Linked DNA regions of Homo sapiens: region 2 is linked to region 1. The links are contacts of gene promoters, found by promoter capture Hi-C in blood cells and fetal thymus (Javierre and others, 2016). All regions are on one chromosome and are shown on one strand. Each heading gives the region's core, a stretch centred on a gene start or on the middle of the fragment in contact. The rest is flanking DNA. Distances are from core to core; before and after follow the strand shown.

The links. Contacts are between HindIII fragments. The CHiCAGO score rates a contact against its expected background, and 5 or more counts as called.
Region 2: a fragment that was not itself captured here is called in contact with the fragment with the promoter of PTPN13 in region 1 in 3 of 17 cell types (M1 macrophages, M2 macrophages and megakaryocytes); the score reaches 6.0 in M1 macrophages.

What each region holds. Positions count from the first base shown.
Region 1 is chr4:86,592,770-86,596,046 of GRCh38, forward strand. PTPN13 (protein tyrosine phosphatase non-receptor type 13) reads left to right here and starts at 1,546. Exons shown (of 48, transcript NM_080683.3): 1 at 1,546-2,020. It also overlaps a transcript of MAPK10 not described here. RefSeq lists an enhancer at 1,197-1,783. The HindIII fragment of the contact is 4,151 bases long and covers 1-3,111 here.
Region 2 is chr4:86,499,463-86,502,739 of GRCh38, forward strand. It overlaps a transcript of MAPK10 not described here. Among named protein-coding and RNA genes, the nearest start is that of MIR4452, 41 kb to the right of the region's middle. The HindIII fragment of the contact is 2,178 bases long and covers 714-2,891 here.

The DNA.
Region 1 (3,277 bases), core at 296-2,795:
CCTCATCTTTGCTGCATTCATCAAAGCCCAGTGTAAATTCCCCTCTTCCATAAACTGAGGAATCCAGCCCATTTTACATAGCAAACTTTCTCTTAGCTGCTACCTACTCAAAGTTTGGCTGCACATTTTAGCTATAATTGTTCTCAAATTGTTTCAAGAGTGCTAGTTTTCTTTCTTAGGCTCCAGGTTAGCTCCTTGGGAGCGGGGACTTAGCTTAAAATCCTGCTGTGTATTTTCCGTTGTGTTTAGCCCTATGAGTAATCACATTCAATGCATACTTGTAAGGCATATTTGACTGAAGATATCTATCATAGTTATTCATTTAGTAAATGATATAATGAAAACTCAAGTGCTCGCCAAAGATAAATCATTACTATTAATTCCCTCATTCATCATACATGTATGGCAGCCTCAGGGGCTAGGGAACCTAGGATTGCTGCTTTGACTTTTTTTGGGGAAGCCAAATAAGCCTCAGATCTCTCCACTTTGGAGCCAGCCATGAAATTCAGATTTACCTAGGGCTCAACATTAAGGGTCTCAGACTAAATTTATCTTCAGGTACCCTTTCCAGAGTGGACCAGTTTACCTTATACCTCTGAGAATAACCCAAAACTTTCAAAACTCAAATCACAGGATATTATTTGTTCATGAATTCAGCAAGACTCTCTTGTTTAACTATTGAAACTCAAATATTTCGGCTTGCAGCAAGGAGGGGTACAGCTGTCTGGATATACCTTGGCCAAATTTCAGTGTATATAGAAAAGTGGGAGGTTATCGACTATGTTAAACCTTTTCCTTAAATTTTCAAACTTCGGGATTATTTTAGTCTCATAGATAAAATAACAAGGCAAGTATTTACAAACTTTTTTCAAAAATATGAGAATTTCAGTTTTCCCTAGGGCATTTGGCGTTGTGCTGTCACCACACTTTTGAAGATAGCTTTACAACCGTGGGAAAACTCACCGGGCTTTTTTCGTTGACCCCGCCATTTCTAAGTTGCTATATTGCTGCAAGGAGCTGGCAAAGCCATGCTCTTCCTCTCCCCCATTCTCCTCTTCCTTTCAAAGACCAAAGCGCCCCGTGAGAATATAGAAACAAGGCTGAGAGGCAGCGAAGAGTAAGGGAGGAGCCAGCACTTACGCATTTTTCACTCTCCTCCTCACTCCCTAGGGTCATAGTTTTGATTCTGAAGTTAGAAGTGTGGGGGTCGTCGGCTGCATTTTCAACTTGGCCTAAAAGTTGGAGTTCACCACACTGCAGGCGCTAGGAACTCTGCCGCTCGGTCACCAACCTGAGCCTCTGGCTAGTCCGAAGAACGCGAAAAGCCAGGCCCAAGGCACTGGTTGTCATGGCAACCGGGGCGCTGGTCTCCCTGGCGACCTCGTCCCTAGGGAGGAGGTGGAGCTGGATGCCAGGCGGGCCAATGAGGTCGAGGGGAGCTCGGGGTGGGAGATCTGCGGTCCTCCCAGTGCCGGGGAATGGTTGAGTGACAGGACCGGGGGGGCGGAGCCGGCGCGGCTGCCCGAGGTGGAGCCCCAGTGGTGCGAGTAGCTCCAGCGGCCACGCTGAGGCGAGGGTGACACACCATGCTCACGGCCCCTGGAGACCGTCGTGCTGGCGAGCCGTGCTCCGTAGCTCCCCGGTCCGCCTCGGCAGCGGTCAGAGTCGCCTACAGGAGTTGAGCCGCCCGCGCCAGAAGGTTTTGGCGAAGCTCTTGGAGAGGCGTCGAGCACAGTAGGGCGGCGGGGGTGCGTTGAGCGCTCGGGGGTCAGGCAGTCGGCCGGGATCGCCGCTGGGGAGCGTTTCCGAGGCGAGGAGGAGGAGGAGGAGATGCTGCTCCTCTTCTCCCCCTCCCCAGGCTCCTTCTACAGCTCCTTCAGCCCACGCCCGCAGCCGCTTGTGGGAGAAGTGGTGGTGGCTCTCGGCGCCCGCGGCGGCTGCCGGCGGCCCGCCCCGACGCCGCGTCCCTGCAGCCCTCGCCCGGCGCTCCAGTAGCAGGACCCGGTCTCGGGACCAGCCGGTAAGGACGAGAGCCGCCCTGGGCTCTGCGCTGCATGTGCAGAAGTGCAAAACAAAGTACATTGCGCTCGTTCTCTTCCTCCTCTCTCTGCTTTCGCTCCAGTCCCTAAACCCAACTCCTCGGTTGCCCTGGTAGAAGGAACTTTTCTTTGGTTTTGGTGGTGGGTGTTTTTGTACGTTAGAGTGGGGGTGGGGTGACTGGAGTGGGGAAGAATGAGATGAAACTCCATTGCTAATTAGGTAGATCCATCTCCTCTGCGGAAGAAAGCCGGATTCTCGGGAATGAAACCCACAGGGGGAGTAAGAGATTGTGGGGTAATAGGGAGTGACATTGCCCCGTCGTGCTTGCACAGCTCCGCTCTGTGCGTGCTTAAGGGAAGGGCTCCCGGAGTCTGTTTCTAATTTCTGCAAATGATTGTGGAGATGGTGTGGTTAGAGGCCGCCCAGAAGAATGTGTGTGTAAGGGCTCGAGAAGGGGGTGGGATGGCGGGGAAGCAGAGGAAGAGGGGGCAGAGGGAGAGACACTGTCTGATGCAAGGTCTTTTATTGCTTTTCTTCTGCTTGCTAAAGTTAACACTCTACCCTCCGGCCCCCTAGCCCCACCGCTTTGCTCATTACGTGATACTGTAAGAGCAGACAGCTGGGAAGCTAAAGTTAAACCAAAGTCAAGAAAATTCTTACAAAGTTTAATTTCCTTCTGTTGTGAATATAATGGAGAGAGGAGGATGGGGAGAAATATCACTAAGAGATTTACAGCAATACAGTTTTCATTGGCCATACACGTATATGATCGACACCACCGCACACTTCCAACTAATCTGTTCGACAGCCTTGTGTCATTTTCATTTAATTGCATCTTTGAAACAACAAACGCGGTGACTTCATAGGGAGCTGCCTGGAGCTGAGCTCCCTCGCAGAAAATGGGGCAATCGGGTTTGTTTTCAAGGCAGGACCTGAACAAAATGTAGGACACCTGATCTGTGGGATGAAGGGCGCTGGTAACTAATTATAAATTTTAAGATTTTAAAATTTATATCTAGAAAGTTTACTAAAGGATGGGGGGGGGAGTAAAAGTGCATGTATTATGAAACAAGCTTAGGTATTTTCCTAAAGTCTTCATGACTGTGTTGGCAGGGTCCAGGTGAAAACTTGCTTCATGCTCATTGGCTGCTTGTAGTGGTGCCAATATACAAATTATTTCTCGTTTTAATATCACTAGGAGCATTTGTTAGTAAATTCATACATATATTGATTTAGT
Region 2 (3,277 bases), core at 553-3,052, 93 kb before region 1:
GCCAGGGCCACACATACACACCCATAGGCAGTGCCTCCAGGTCACGAAACACACTGGAAATGTGTATATTGTTCAGTCAATATCAATTAGACAAAAAGACAAACCATATAATGCACTATCCAAAGAGGATTTGTTTTTTGCTTTAATCGTTGATTTTGCTTGCTTGCTATAGCTAAGACAACTAGTCACCTACACAACATCTATTCTCTTCTTTTTCCTTAATGATAGAACTTTAAGAACTTTAATTTTATTCCAAGTAGTGATGTATCCAGCTAAAGGACTGCATTTGCCAATCTCTCCTGCAGATAGGGATGGTTGGTAAACAGTAAGTGGGCCTTTAGAGAAAGCTCCTTAAGACAAACAGCTGAAGTATGTCTTTTTGTCCTTTCTGCTTCCTCCCTGATTAGAAGACATATATGATGTCTGTCTGGGATCCCAGCAACCATCTTGGACCACGTGAAAACCTTGGGGATGGAAATCACATGCTATGGATGGCGAAGAAAACTAAAAGCGCCTGAGTCACTGATACCACTTTAGAGCTACCATATAAGCCTCTCTTAAGCCTTCCTTTTATGAAAGAAATATAAAATTCCATCTTGCTGAATTCCTATCTGTGTTACTAGCAATTGAACAACTGATTTGCCAGCCATCTGAATTACCCAGATTGTCTGATAATTGGTCAATACCCACTTCATTTTAGGATATAGAAATAAAGCTTCAAAACTGGCCATAATAGCTATGGTGATTTGATCCTCAAAACTAAAAATTAGGTCACACAATAAGAATAGTCTGAATCCACTTATGGGAGAAGCAGATCAGCTTATTTGAAATCGGGTTGTGCTAGAATACCCAGATCATATGATTCTATTTTCAGTTATTAAGTTCAAGCACGTTGCAGTAATCCTGACCTGATTTTCCACTTCATCAGGAAAAAGATAAGTTTGCGTACTGTGTGGTACACACTCTTCTAACTAGAAACTTCAGTTTAATACACAATCTCTGAAATTTATTTCACAAAGTGTTCTGAGTTTCCTGAAACTCAGGTTCCCCATAAACTTTGGGGGTTTTGTTGTAATTACACCTATGCTCCTTTCTCTGTGCTCAGGAAGAAGCATTATTGGCACCTGTATCCTGTAGAACTCAGTTCTATATATTTAATATTTGCCTTACCTAAGCCCTCTATATATGTTTCCCCATAAAAGGATAATAATACTAACCTTTCCTCCAGTGTGTGTTGTGATGTTTAATTAATGTTTACAAAGCATTTAGTGAGCTGCAGATGAAAGACTCTAAGGAAGCATAAAGCAATATCATTAGACTGACTCATCAGCTACTTTTATTAGCTATGCAAAATGAAAGCCATGTTGCTACAGCCAAAATAGTTATGGATACACATTAGGTAAAAAATATAAATTCCAGCACAATTTAAATCTATATACCACATCTACAAAGCAAACACCTGAAGCTCCTTAATAGGACAATTTTTTTCTCTGATAAGTATTTGAAATCTGTTAACATTTAAAAATATAAACAGATTAGAAGGTTAGGGTAATGGTAAAAACATGATACTTTGGTAAACATATGAAACTCTTTACACTTTCTTATGTGAATGAAGATTTCATTTGCAATGATGTGAAACTCTCTACGATCTGAAAAAAAAAAAAAAAAAAAAAAAAAACTTTTAATTGATTCTTTTTCATTTGAAATTAGCAATAATGACCTGAATTCCACAGGAGATAAAAACAATAAATTGAAAACCTTGAAAATTAGTTCAGGTAATAGTTCTTGAGTTTCTCTGTGCCCTATGTTCAGGTGCAGGCTATTTTATATATAGTCTTCAACAGCTTTCAACCAAGTGGTATACAACTGTATTTATTTAATAAGCATATATTAATATTGTATATTTTTTCTGAACCAAGGAATCATTTACACTATACATTCTAGTCTACAATGTAAAACTAAAATATCATTTTATTGTGTGACATGGAGCTCTTTTTCAAGTTAAAACAGCTCTGTATCCTAGTGTTTCCTTGCTGTGTAGCAGAATGAGAATTAGGAACTAGGAAGAGCCCAGCTGGTAAGGAGGGTTCGCTTTTTTATAATTAGTTGGGTTAAACCCATAATATCCATCTATAACTTATCCAGGGTATTCTGTTTCAAAGAGAAGTAATAGTCTTAAAACAGAAAACATGCATTTGTATGCATGTGTGTGTGCATGCACACACACACACACACACACACTACTGTGCAGTCAAAGAACAGACTCCATGTCAGTTTTGAAAGACATACCAACTGGGTTCAACATTACATTGTGTCAGAGAATGAAGTGATGACTATCCTTCACTCAAAAAATGCATAGTTGAATTTTTCCTCCAACTTCCAATTTGGTTAATTTGAGAACTTGTGGTTTAGTAGGTTACATGGAAGATTAAGGAGACTCACATCCATAATTGTCCCAAAAAAGCACAAAGTTAACATTCTCCTGAGTTGAAAGTAAAGACTATTATGGAAATTAATTAATCCCTTAACAACAACCACAACAAAATGGCAGGGCACTGCATGGCAGCACTGCAGGGTCTTTTAAAGGTAAATGGATTTCATGCCATTTTAACCAGTTCAAGTATAAAGTCATCCAAGTTTTAGAAATATTCTGAAACCATTTTCTTCTGCCTCTTTAACGGCTACTTTTTGATCTCCATTTTTTTTCCTCCTCTAAATGTGTTGTGACTCATACATTTACAACTTGGATGTCCCCAAAATAGTAACCACCCCCATTCTATTGCCATATATTTTTGTGTTATAAATTAAAATGGGAAGAATACCCATTCAGAATATAATGGAAAACAGCATCCCCCAACTCGCTCCTGAAGTATCTTCATGAATTCTAAAGAAGCTTAACATTATTCTGAGTCATTTCTTGCTTGGATTTCTTGCTTCTACTGAATTCTCCAAAGTAAAGCTAAATTCTCCTTAGCTTTACTTTGCATTGACTTAATAATATGAAGTACATTTCTCTTGACCATTCCTTTGAAACTCACAAAACTTCTTGTTTCTCTTTATATCACTCCTATACCTCAGCATGCTCTGAGTTTTATTTTCCACTGTAATATGGCCCATCAAGGTGATTGACCAAACAAAAAGTTTTTGAGGCATATTCTTGATAGCTTTTAAATGTACATTGCCTCTCCTCCATATGTCAAATTAACTTTCCCACTACAGAGAATTCTTCTGGCACCTATAATTAATATTCTCTTTGGTACATTCTTTCCTTTAGAGT